Linked DNA regions of Homo sapiens: region 2 is linked to region 1. Evidence: promoter capture Hi-C in 16 types of primary human blood cells and fetal thymus (Javierre and others, 2016). All regions are on one chromosome and are shown on one strand. Each heading gives the region's core, a stretch centred on a gene start or on the middle of the fragment in contact. The rest is flanking DNA. Distances are from core to core; before and after follow the strand shown.

The links. Contacts are between HindIII fragments. The CHiCAGO score rates a contact against its expected background, and 5 or more counts as called.
Region 2: a contact is called between a fragment that was not itself captured here and the fragment with the promoter of LINC03051 in region 1, in 1 of 17 cell types (erythroblasts). The highest score is 6.3, in erythroblasts.

The regions. Positions count from the first base shown.
Region 1 is chr3:117,995,025-118,002,082 of GRCh38, forward strand. It overlaps LINC03051 (long intergenic non-protein coding RNA 3051), which reads right to left and starts at 2,555. Exons shown (of 3, transcript NR_182298.1): 1 at 2,158-2,555. RefSeq lists an enhancer at 2,226-2,772. The HindIII fragment of the contact is 6,554 bases long and covers 1-6,508 here.
Region 2 is chr3:118,641,130-118,647,650 of GRCh38, forward strand. The region is part of intron 2 of LOC105374060 (a long non-coding RNA gene); the gene reads right to left. It overlaps LOC101926968 (a long non-coding RNA gene), which reads left to right and starts at 639. Exons shown (of 2, transcript NR_135573.1): 1 at 639-795; 2 at 2,733-3,028. The HindIII fragment of the contact is 185 bases long and covers 1,300-1,484 here.

The DNA of each region.
Region 1 (7,058 bases), core at 1,305-3,804:
AGCAAAATCTTGAAAACTCCTCTTTAGAAAGAACAATATTCCCGGGGAGGAAAAGCTATTTGCTTTGCCCAAATGAGACCAGAAAATTCAGAGAATTGTTACTATAGTTTACTATGTTATCACTGAAAAAGACTGGGGGGCTTTTTTTTTTAATAGAAGATCTCCTGAAATATAATTATCTGGTTTCGTGTTCCATTACACCTTCCTCATCCTTTAGAAGTACCTTTCACTCATAAGACCCCATGGCTGAGTAATGAATATCCCATAGTTTTACTCAAACTTAAGAGGAGCATGTATTCATGACATCATTCTTAGCATTTTATCAGAAGAGCTAAATTCCTAGAGTTAAATGGAATAGGAAGGAAAGGGATTAACCTCTGCTGCTGGCATAGTACAGTCACGATGCTAATGTCTCAATATGAAAAAGCTGAATTGCAGCAATATCTGAAATCACAGAGAAAGTCCTGTGAGCTTTGAAGGAAAAAATGTAAAGAAATAAAATGTAAAAAGCCAAAGCAAGATTGGGACTCTATTTTTCATTTAGACATGCTTAGTAGAAGAATCATGTATTGCAAGAGCTCACAAATTAGATAGGAGAGGAATGGGTCAGTGAGTTCTGAGATGAGAAAGTTTTTAGAACCTGTAACTTGTAATTGTATTATGGGTGAGTTCCAGCTGTTCCCCTAAGCATATTTTAAACTATAACTTCGACATAGTATTCATTCCCTTGCAATGCTTCAACAGTAAACAGCCAGGGAGTCTATTCTCTTTTCATTTAGCAAGAGGGCTTTATAGCTACACAAAATATCCCCCAGCAATGAAAAATGAAACCCACCAATGTAACATTAGCAACCAGCTGTCAGAAAAAAATCAGGAGTAGGATTGCCAGTCTGGTCATTTCATGCCAAGTGTTCTTGAGAGGCAGTGTGTGTGCGTATGTGTCTTTGTGTGTGCATGTGTACACTGTGTGTAAATGGAGTGTGTTCTGTAGCATGAGAGATGTGCGTGGGTAAATGTCCTAATGATGGCAGAATGCCCAAACATGAAGATGTAGTAGAACCGTCAGTGGTAGAGCAATATAGCACAGACTCTCTATGGCTAATTGTGCAAGGTTCCTCTCACGAGCAGGAAGAGTGAGACAGGAAGATTAAAAAGATAATATATTTTTATGTTGGAATTACTTCGTGTATTATAGGTATGTTTAACATCAGTGAGGGCTCTGGATGCCAGCTTGTAAGTGAAATGCAAACACCATGTATGTATTTTCATTTTTAACCTTCATGAATTTATTTTACAACCTCCCCAAAACATAGAAACCTACAATCCCTTCAAAGTAAACACCCAGCGCTAGCAATTTTGTCCTGCAAGCATGAAATACATTGACCATTATGAGCCAGCGCAGCGATTACCCGTGAATTCTCGTATTCATTCTCTCTCTCTCTCTCTCTCTCTCCCCCACCCCACTCTCTTCCTCCCTCCCTCTTCTCCTCCTCCCCCCCTCCCCGTGTCCCCCTCCCCCCACCCCACTCACCGTTCCCTTCCCTCCCGCATCCCTCCTCCATCTCGGGGCAGAAGAATCTGGTGGGGCTATTTTGCAGAGAGATACAAGTACCAGGTGCCAAGCGGATACCTAGCCTCCTAAACTTAATGCCAATTCCCTCCTGAAAGAGGAGGAATGCAGTGATATCAGCACCGGGGACACGGGGATAGCGAACACCACCGCGGCTCTTGGAGTTTACAGAGGAGCAACCCCAGCTCCGTCGCCACCACCTCGCGCAAAAGCCCCCACCCCACCAAGACACACACACACACACACACACACACACACACACACACACAAAACACGCCGCTCTATCCTGCCCCCCGTTCACACGCGCGCGCGCACACACACACACACACACACACACACACACACACACACACAAGCCCTGGCTTCTTTCCCCATCAACACCGATGTTGCAGCAAGTCTGTCCGCACAATCCCGCACGCCTCAGGACCCAGCCTGGGCGCAGAGCTGGCAGGGCAGGGAGCGCACCGCAGGACTTGTAAATAAACCCTGTTCCATCCAGAACCGGAGCGCTTCTTACTCCACCGACCACCCCGGAGCCCGGCGGCAGGGAGGAGGGGGCGCAAGGGGTCAGGGAATCCTCCCCCTACCTTGCAATGAGAAGAGGGACAGGAAAAAGCCCAGCACCCAGACGCTGTGCAGCCAGTAGGTCCTCATGTCTCCGCTGCGCTCGATGCTCCCTCGCGCGCTCCTGCTCTCGCCTCTTCCGCTCGCGCTCTCTCTAGTAAAACGCGCCGCTCCTTTCCCTCGGTTTCCCTCTGGGTTCTCCTGGTTCCGGCAACCCGGACAGACAAGCCTCTTGCCGCACGACGGCCGGATCCCAGAACAGCCTTGCTCTCCTCTTCGGGAGCGCAAGCCAGGGGCCGGGATGGACGCTCGTAGCCCGTGCCTGGTGTAAACACACCGAGCCCCCTTGTCCCTCGAGCTCTCCCGCTTTCCTGCTTCCTATCCTCCTCTCCCTCACTCCCCTGCAGCTTCAACTAAATGCGATGTACTTAAACAAGCAGCGCCTTATAGGACCGCGAACCGAGCCGAAAGGGCCCCGCTACTGCCATCTAGTGCTCACAGAACGGCATCGCCGCGGCTCTTCTTCGCTGTGTGTCTGTGCCAAGTCTATCCAACGCCGCCAAAGTCCCCTCTGCTCTCAGCAAACACAGGTGAAGCTCTTGCCTTCTTAAATCCTTGACTTGACCTTGCTGTCCCATAAGTCCTGAATTTCTCCTTTTCACGAGGAAGCTCTTGGAACATGCTAGCCGCACATCTTCATCACCTCATTGCTCCTCTCCCTCTCAGAAATCTCCAGTGCTTTCCTAACAACTCTATGGAAATTTTTCTCCAAATGTCACCATGACCTCCACCAAAAAGTCCAATGGCCTTTTGAAGCCTCATCCTACTTGATTTTGATGCTGCGCTTCACAGCGTGTGCCATTCCTTTTTATTTGATTTCAAAGTCACTGGGTCAAAACAATTCTGGCACTTCTGACCTTCCCTCCAAGAGCCCTCTGGGTTCCTCTGCACTTCTTGGTTTATATCTTCTGTTATAATTTCTTTAAGTTACTTGGAAATAAAAGGTCTATTACAGCTACACGAGGATGGAAACCTCCACCACTAACCTCGTGCTTAGCCCTCAGCTTAGACTTCCCAGCTGGGTACCAAGCATCTCAAACTGGATGACTCAGGGCCAGGGCTGAGTTGGGTGAGTAGGCAGATGGGGCCGCTCTGAAGAGCACTGACTAGTAGTTAGGAAAGCTGGATTTCAGTTCTGTTACTGTGGCCTCCACTCGTTGGGGACCTTAACTAAGTCATTCAATCTCTGAATTTCATTTTATTCATCCATGTATTTACATGATAATGAATATTGGTCCCTTCCAACTGTTTGTAATATCTATGCTAGGTTTCTCCACCTTGGCACTACTGACATACTGTACCAGATAATTCTTTACTGTGTGGGGCTGTCTTGTGCACTATAGGATTTATAGCAACATCCCTAGCTTCTGTCCACCAGCTGACAGTAGCACAACCCTCATCCTCCTAGTTATGACAACCAAAAACATCTCCAGGCATTGCCAAATGCCCCCTGGAGGGAAAAACTGACCCAGTTGAGAACTTCTTATCTATACCCACGTGATTTTCTTCAGGAATTATTCCCCTTTTCCAACTTCCCTGTTTCACAGGCTTCAAGAACTTTTAGAAGTATATTTAATTCTCTCTTCTCCAATTTCAGTTGATCATCAGTCTCACCACGACAATGTGTAAATGTGTCTAAGATGTCTCTATGTTTTTTTTTCAGTTTTACTGCCACCTTTTTCATAATAAACACGTGTTGTGCATTATACTTTCTGAAATACTTTTAATTATCTCTAATGCTGTGATATGTTCAAGGGCTATGTTAGCTCTTCGAGCATTAGTGGGAAATGCAGACAAAGACAAGTTAAGTGACTTTTCTTATGACATACGATAGGCCAGTGAAAGCAACATTAGCAGACCTGAAGGAGGTCTCCTGACTCTAGCAGCATTCCTGATCCATCTCTCTAGTATGGGTCTTTATTGCCACACCCCTAGATTTCTACAATAGCCTTCTACCTGATCCCTTTCCTCCATTCACTGCTCTAATCTAGTTTATACGTTACCACCAGGTTAATCTTGTTAACAGTTTCTTCAAGACTCTCACCTGCTTATGAGTTATAGCTGCTCCTTATGGTCTTCTAGAACCATACTAGAATCACCTGAGGACTTTTGCTGACGCATCATCCCACCCCAAACCAATTAGATCACAATTTTTGGGTTGCAGCCCTAGCATCCGGAGTATTTTAAAGATCTCAGGCCATCCTAATCTGCAACCAGGGCTGAAAAACACTAACCTACCAGACAGAATTCAGATTCTTCATTTTTAAAATGTAAGGTCTTCTGAAATTTCTTATCTTACCTTTAACAATTTATTTTTTTTTCAATCCCCAATGGAGACACTTTCTTCTAGATTGCTCAGTCTTCTTTTTTCCCCATGCACTTCCTTTATCTGCTGCTTGTTTGTCTTGCCAAGTCTGTTCCATTCTCAGGAGGCAATTTGCAAGTGGCCAGAGCATAGACTTTGAATCTAGAACTAGATGGATTCAAGTCCTACCATGCCTTTAACAAATGGAGAGACCTTGCAAAAGTCTCAAAGGACTTTTGTGAGTATAACTCATGAAGTACTTAATAAATAATGTCTAGTGGTATTGTTTTTCAAGGATCAACCTTGATTTCTTCAATGTTAATGCATGTCTTAGTAAGGTTTCTCAAAATACAATCAATTTAAGAACCCAGATGCAATAGAATCACAGTGTACATGTTAAAATTCCAGATTACTTAGTCATACACACAACCTAGTCTATTAATATATTTGGATGTTGGAGTCCAGGAATCTGCATTTTACTAGTATATCTAGGTGATTCTTTTGCCCTCTAATGATTGAAAAATCATTCTATAAGAACCACAAAGTGTTAAGAGTTGTGAGAAATTGTTTGCTCATGTAGTCCAGTTTCTCAGCCTCAGCACCCTTGACATTTTGGCCCAGATAATTCTTTGTTGTATGGGGCTGTCCTTTTTATTGCAAGATGTTGAGCAGTGTCCTTGACCTCTACCCACTACATGCCACTAGCAGACCCCTCTCCTCAAAGTATGACAAACAAAAATATCTCCAGAAATCCTATATGTTGCCTGGGAAACTAATTTCCCCCCACCCCAGCCACGCCCATGGAGTACAACTTGTCTAGTCCAAACCTCATTATAAGATAAGAAAACTGAGTTTCAAGGAAATCGCATGACTTGCTAAATCTTGTAGTTTATATTTGGATTTGCCAGAGCCACAAAATGTGTTGCATCAGACTTTGTGATCTCCCTACATTATACTTAGAATGACTTCCAACAATTCTTTAAAATTCTTTCAAAATTGTTCTTGATGCCTAAATTAGATATTTTCCTGCAATATATACTTACTGGCTATAATATCTTTCTGTTTGTTTCTGTATTACTTTAAATAATCAATCCTAATTAATTTCTATGTCTTTGTCATGATTTTCCAAATTGATTTGTAAACACCGCTGCCAATTATCATGTATTAATCACAGAGCCTAGCAGAGTGCTAGATGGGCAGACATTTCTCGAGTATAGCTAGCAGTAGAATAATTACTTGTTTGCGTGTGGTCAGAGGGAGCTTATGCATTCATATATCAATTGTCCAGATATCAAAGTTTTCTTAGATGTAATATATGCTTAGAGACCGTTTGCATAAATATTCATTTTTTTTCAGCGAATGAATGTATCCCATGTTATTTCTGCCCACGCCCTTCACTTTAGTTCAGGTACACTGTTTACAACATAGGAAAGTGGTTCTCAAATTGGTTGGGTAAAGAACTTGTAGAAATTGCATAAATAGCAGACATTCAGGCCCTATCCCCAGAGGCTTTAATTTGCATGTGCATGGGGCTACAGGTCAGTCTGATACCTTGCCAGAGTTCAGGAAATCTAAACTTGAAGATTTGTGTGTGTGTGCGCGTGTGTGTTTAGTATGTTTTGTTGGAAATTTCTGAATGCAAAACTTTGCCCACATTCTTTGACGTTCAATTTATTATATATTCGTGTGGATGACATCCTTCTTAATATCATGGTGGAAGACATACCTGTATATACGGACAGGACATATTTGTATACACAGGTAGAAATTATGTAACTCTCCATCATCACTATTGTTCTAAAAAGCTAATTTGGTCACAAATTCACATAGTTACATACTTACATAGCGTAAGTAAAATAAATAATAGAAACCCTTTCTAGCTTTTTACCTGAGGGCATTTTTTTCCCCTCCCTACAGCTGCCTTCCACTCCAACAAAATCTCAAAGTTTATAAAGCCTGTCAACTTCCATTGCTAATTCTCAGTAATGGGATTGTAATTCGCTTTGGGAAGCTTCCCTGTATTACTGTTAAGTCATTTGCATTCCATAGGATGATTTGTGTTCTGATGAGTCCAGGAATTCCTAGAAGTCTCTTTCCTACCCCGCCCCCTCTTTCATTTGGAGTCTCCTTTTCTGAGTAGCAGCAGAAGCCAAAAGAAAGAAAGAAAAAAACCTTGCATTGCAAGTACAATTAGATCTATGTCTGTAGAAGTGCCTTTTGTCCAGAGACCCCTTAGGATACTATACTGAGACACTGAGCTGAAAAAGGAAAGATGATTTTTTTAACAGATGGGTTGCCTATTTTTGCCCTTCCTACATTAGAGCTGTTTTTTCCCCTTCTCTAAACTAGAGAACTATCATCCTGTAGTGGTATACAACTGTCATTCATTCCTGCCTATATTATACTGTGACTACTTGACTTTAGGCAAGAGAAGGTGATATGCACAATATCTCCCATAATAGACTTTGCAATCTGGCCTGTGGGTTTCTTTTGACTGTCCCAATGCCTGCCAGAGCAGTTTTCACAGATCTAGGAAATGGCTACATAATTTATGTGGAA
Region 2 (6,521 bases), core at 142-2,641, 640 kb after region 1:
ACAGATAGAACAGAATGCCATAATTCCTGAACATCACGTATAGACCAGTAAGAAAAAGGAGGCCATCCTGCTCTCTTTCATTTTCCTTCGTCTTTGTTACTGACTGAAAAGCTCAGAAGTGACAGCCTTGGAGCTGATGATAATGACTTAGAATCATTTCACATACTAAAACCCCAGAATTTAAATTTCCATACAAGTGAACGTTTAACTTCTGTCCCACAGGGCTGTGCTTAGAGCAGGGGATCATTTTAAAATTCCATAGAATAGGCCCTGCCACGCAGAGCACCAGAGGACTTGGAGGTGGATGGGCTCTAATGAACCGCGATGTGACTTGGGTAATGTAGAGCTCTGAGGAAAGCCCTCATACAAATTTTGGGTGATTAACTAAATTTTTAAAAAGGATGGAACCTTCTGCTTCAGTGAATGTGGGAAAATTAAGACAACAAAGACATGGGGGTTCAGGCGAAGGGATATCCTAAGATGCTGGGAACTTTGAGTATTTTGAACCCAGTCCCCCTCCTCCCCGAGCCCTTCAACCAAATGTTCTGTTGCTAAGACAACAGGATGCTAGCAGGCATATGCATGTGTCTGCTTCCTGCATGCGGTTGCCTAGCAACAGGACTCAGCAGAGCCTGGGCTCTCGCTCTTTACACCTACCCTGCTCCATCCATTGCCTTGACTTGCCAGTTGCTTTCCCCACCCCCAAGGCAAAGAAACAAGAAGCAGGAGAGTGCAAGAGGCTCAGGATCTGATCTTCTCAACAGCAGGAGAAAACCCTAGCCTGGCTTCACTCAGGTTAACCCCTACACTATGAAGTTATAAAATGTAAACTGACCATTACAGCTGACTGGAAATGAAATGATGATTCGACATTCTTAATATTTGAAATCCGGTTATGGAGTCCTACCCTGTAATCACCAAAGGGATATGATGATAAGGAAAATACTGAACTACTGAGGCAAGATTAATAGAAATATTTTACCCTAGGAATGAGATCACAGGAAATGGGATATTTGGGGGATAAAAGGAAGAAAGGGAAGGGGAGAAAAGAAATTAAGGAGAAAGTAATAAAGAATAGAAAAAAGCAGGAAAGAAAGGAAAGGCTTTTAACTCACAATAAATAATATCCCTTTGGAACCTGAGAGTGTGCAAACTGGAAAAATCTGCAATGTTATGTAGACTAGGATCTGATGTCTAAAATGATAACAATAGAGATTATTGAAGTTCTTTTAAATATAGGACATTACATTAAGGGCTTTACATAGATATTTCCATCTTCACAATAACCCCGTGTGATAAAGCTTAGGAAAGTGATTTTACAGCTTAGACTCAGAACAGTTAAGTGACTTGACCAAGGACACACAGCTAGTAATTGTGGCAAAGCTAACAAAAATAGGTAGCATTCAAACCAAAATTAGTTTGACTCAAAACCCACTCATTTTCTTAACATGTATTATGAGAAGTACCTGAGAAAATATGTGTAAAGCTTGTGAAGTCACACAAATTTGTTAAATTGGGGACCTTTTAAAGAAGCTATAAATATACCTTATATAACATTAAACAAATGTTTTTTCTTCAAAGCTTTAATGCAATAATTTATAAAAGAAAATCATCTTGCCAAGTGGGAAAGTAAAAGCTGGTCCTTTAACAAAGTGTTCAGTAAAAAAGTTTAGAGTCCTTTTGAAGAAGCTGTAGAAAGAAACTCCCGAGTTACTCCCATTGAAAAGAAAGTTCAAATTTTGGAGATGTTTATGAAATTATAGGAAATTGATTATAGCACCAGATGTATACAGAAAAGCAATTGCTCCAGGAAATCAAATAAAAGAAAAATATAAGGTTCCTCTGAAACCTTGGTGGCTTCTAATACGGAACTCCTTCCTGGCAGCAGCACAAAGCCCCTGGCCAGCGAACATGTGGCGAAGTGCTGACAGCAGGGATGGATACATACATATTCAGTGCCCCTTTCTCAGACCCTCAGACCTCCATGCCTACAGAAGACATATGGCATGCCAGTCTCATCATTCAAAAAGATGTGCCTAAGCTTGCCTGACCTAGGCTTAAACCAGTAATTTTACCAGCTACATTTATTCCTTATTCTAAAGGGTGAGTTCAGGCATACTTAGAAAATCCTTTTGTCATATTCATTAATTCCAAAGGTAATAGGCCCCCTCTAAATATTAATAGAGATCAGGCAGACCCTACCTGACTATTAGAGTCAAGATTCTGGTGTCCAGAGTGCACAAACTCAGGTTAACAGGTTAATGGCTTCATCCCTTCCCAAATTTAAAGTATTGTTATCATTATATCATATTACATATGACAGCTATTCTCCAGAAATAACTTGTCTTTGCTTAAGGATCAGGGCCAAATACTCTCCTGTGAAGAGCATAAACCAGAGTAGAAACATAAAGCGGGCATTCCAGCTTTTCTACACAAAGCTATATGAAGTAACTATGTTGCAGAGCTCTAAATAACATAATTCATACAGTAATGCCCACAATGTGTAAAAATGCAATGGACAAAGACTATTGTCCCACAATATCTATTCCATCTTTCTTGTATAGTCACAGAATTTTTAGCTAGGCACATGACCACTCACTCTAAAGTCTGGCCAATAAGATTTATACGCAATTGTCATGTGGCAGTTTTTCTAACTCTTTAAGAAACAGCCATTGTACAAATGTTGCCCCTCTTCTTTTGTTCCTTTCTTTTCCCCACCTACTGCAATGTAGAAGATGTCATCTTGGATTAGAAAAGAGAGAGAGAGCCACAACTTGGATTGACAGAGTATGGAGCCTGAAGGAGCCCAGGTCCCTGAGACACGGTGGAACAAAGCCACTATACTACCTCAGGACTCTGTACAGCCCTGCTTTATATAGAGGAGAAGTAAACTTCTATCTTTTTAAAGCCCCTATTTGTTGAATTGTATTGTCACAGCCATATCCAATCTTAAGGAATATACAAAGATTATGCCATGGCTTTTGTAGCCCAATTGGCTATCTAGGCAAGTAAAATAATCTGAATGATGTATTAGTCTGTTCTTGTACTGCTATGAAGAAATACGTGAGATGGGTAATTTATAAAGAAAAGAGGTTTAATTAGCTCGCAGTTCTGTGGGCTGTAGAGGAAGCATGGAGCATCTCTTGGGCTTCTAGGGAAGTCTCAGGAAACTCACACTCATGGCAGAAGGCGAAGGGAGAGCTGGCACTTCACATGGCCAGGAGCAGGAGGAAGAGAGGGGTTGGGAGGTGCTACACACTTTTAAACAAGAAGATCTCATGAGAACTCTATTATGAGAACAGCAATGGGGGATGGTGCTAAACCATTAGAAATCGCCCTCATGATTCAATCACCTCCCACCAGGCCCCACCTTCAGCATTGGGAATTATATTTCAACATGAGATTTGGGTGGGGACACAGATCCAAACCAAATCAAATGATCTACAGCAGAAAAGAAATCCTGAATAGAAATGAGGATCTGAATTGTCTCAAGACAAGACTCTCCAATTTATAACTGGCAATCTAAAGAACTCCTGTCATTTTCCTTAAGGATATAATTTTTTTCATAGTATACAGAATAAGATGTTGTCCTCAAAAAGAAAGAAGATATTTTATCCACAGGCAAAAACTTGTCTTTTAACATTTACTTGCTTCTCCCTAGATGAGAGAGCCCCATCAGATGCTCCTGAGCATACGCCCAAAATGCACACCCAAAAGGTGTTGTTTCCAAGAAGTGACACCCAAGAGGTGTTGCCACCACAGCCCTTGTACTGATAAGGCAAACCTAAGAGCCACTGGTGAAACTCATCTAATAAAATGAATGAATATAATATGTGACTTAATATCTTTTCAATATTTAAAAGAAATGTGTATACTGAAAATTCATATGATCCACACCACTACTGTCTGATAGAAATATAACACCAGTCACAAATGCAAGCCATAGATGCCTTTCTAACTTTTCTAGTGACCACACTTTTAAGAATCAAAAAGAAACAACTAAATATAATTTTAATAATATACTTTAACCCAATATATCAAAGATATTATACGTTACATACTAATATGATCCATATAAAATACCAATGTGCTTGAAATTTTCTTTTTTTTTTTTTGTACAAAGCCTTCAAAACCCAGTATATATTTTACACTTACAGTACATTTCAATTTAAGCTAGCCACACTTCAGATAGATGTTCAGCAACCACTGTGGCTCGTGGCTACCATACTGAACAGTACAGATCTGGAGTATGCCATTTATTGTTTAGCAGAATAATAACATCTTTGAATGTCTTGAGCCTCTAAAGTTTCTCAAGCCCAACCAAGGCTCCTGCCTTCTTGTCACAATTGTAACTTATGATAAAAAATGAAGGTGACTGTTTGTAAATAGCTACCAAAATGGTTATGCCATTATTACAACTCACAATCATTCAGATCTCACTGATGATGAGGTTCTTCTCTTGTGCTAACTTTATGTCTGTTGCTGCATTTAGCCCTATTCTGGTTCTGTCTTCCACAGAGAAGAGGCACAGTGACCCATAATCCCCACATAATTACTTTGCATGTTAGGAAGCACAGAACTCCAGGGACATGCTCAGTTTACTAAGGTGCAAAGGCGGTAGGGATTTGAAAGAGCCAAATCTAAATCTCAAGGCACTCAGACTCAGTTTCCCTCTGCCATGAGGAGACTCATGACTCCTTCCATTTTCCAGCATAGTTCGAAGGTCACAGACACTGTGAAAGCTTTCCTTTAACCACAATCCTATAATGAATACAATTTCTGACTCTGGGGTCTACTTCTACTTTAGATCTTTAAAAAGAAGAATTCGAAGAAAAAGGAATGCAAGGAGAAAGCTGAAGAGGAGGTGGAAGGAAAAGAAGAAGCAGCAGAAGAGGGAGAAGAGAAAGAAATGTCTGTCTATAGAAGGGAGAGTCACATGATTTGAAGGCTGACATTTGGAATGCAAACCTGAGGAAAATTGTCTACCTCACTTACCTGCCTGGTTGGAAATCCAAGTATCAGTGATACACTTGTTTTGAGATAAACTAAGAGTCCATGCATACCTAGTTAAGATGCAAATAAACCTAGGAAGTGAAATACCAAACCTTCAATTCTTACTACATTTTCATTCATCAAACACAAGCAAATTGGTCAACTCAGCAGGGCCTAGAAAGACAGACACAAATGTTGACAGGCAGGATGGGAAAGATCTGGGAAACAGAAGCCTCGGGCCACCTATGCATTATTGTGATGACCTTGGAGACCTGGAGGAACGGTCACCTGAAGCACAGAGGATGCTGACAAGAGGACAGAGACTGACAAACCTCAACTCTTCCCACTGTCCAGAGCCAGCTCTGCCTAGCATCTCCACTGTTTACTATGACGTTGTGAGTTTGGGTTATCTGTACTTAACTTCTTCAAGATATAAAGAATGTGACATATCCCCAGCACTTCAATTCTTACTTTTTATTAGGATCAGCTGGTCCTCTTTGGGCCCAGTAAGCTTCTAGCCTTCCAGTTTATTTGACTCAATCATAACGAAATGAACCACTAGTTCTTTGGACTTTTAAAATTCAACTGGACAGTCCGTTGAAAGCCTGTGCTTCACAACAAAGCCCAGAAATTTCTGAGTACCAGAAAATGTGAAACAGTTAAAAATTTTTAAAAATAAATGAATGTTGGCTGGGCACGGTGGCTCACACCTGTAATCCCAGCACTTTCGGAGGCTGAGGTGGGCAGATCACAAGGTCAGGAGATTGAGACCATCCTGGCTAACACGGTGAAACCCCGTCTCTACTAAAAATACAAAAAATTAGCTGGGCATAGTGACGGGTGCCTGTAGTCCCAGCTACTCGGGAGGCTGAGGCAGGAGATTGGTGTGAACCCAGGAGGCAGAGCTGGCAGTGAGCCGAGATCGCGCCGCTGCACTCTAGCCTGGGCGACAGAGCGAGACTCCATCTCGAATAAATAAATAAATAAATGTTTATCACTTTCATTATCAACTTGAATTCTGGTTCTTCCCTCTTTTTCCCTTTTCTATTTTCCTTATCCTCATTCTTTGTTTTCTGACAGGGATGCATAATTGTCTATAGGTTCATGGCTGAAAGGCATTGTTTCTCTAAGAAGGTGGGGTTAGCAGAGACACGCATGAACCTGTGATAAAGGAAGGGCAGAAACCCCTGTCCAGCTACATTTCCAGAACCAAGCTCATAAGCTCATAAGAGGCTATTTATTCAGTCATTCAATGGCAATAATTGAGTTGCTATTACATGCCCAATCCTGTGGTCAAAGAATAGTAGTAATAGACATAAGAATACAAATCTGTGTTGAGTGCCAACATGGAGATGCCCCAAGGTAGAGAAGGGGAACAGAGGAAGATGTTGGTTCTGGAAATGTAGCTGGCCAGGGGTTTGTGTCCTTTCACAGATCCAGGGGCCTCTCTCCCAACACTGTTTTCTTGAAGAAACAATGCTTATTGGCCGTGAACCTATACATAGTTGTGCTTCCTGTCAGAAAGCAAA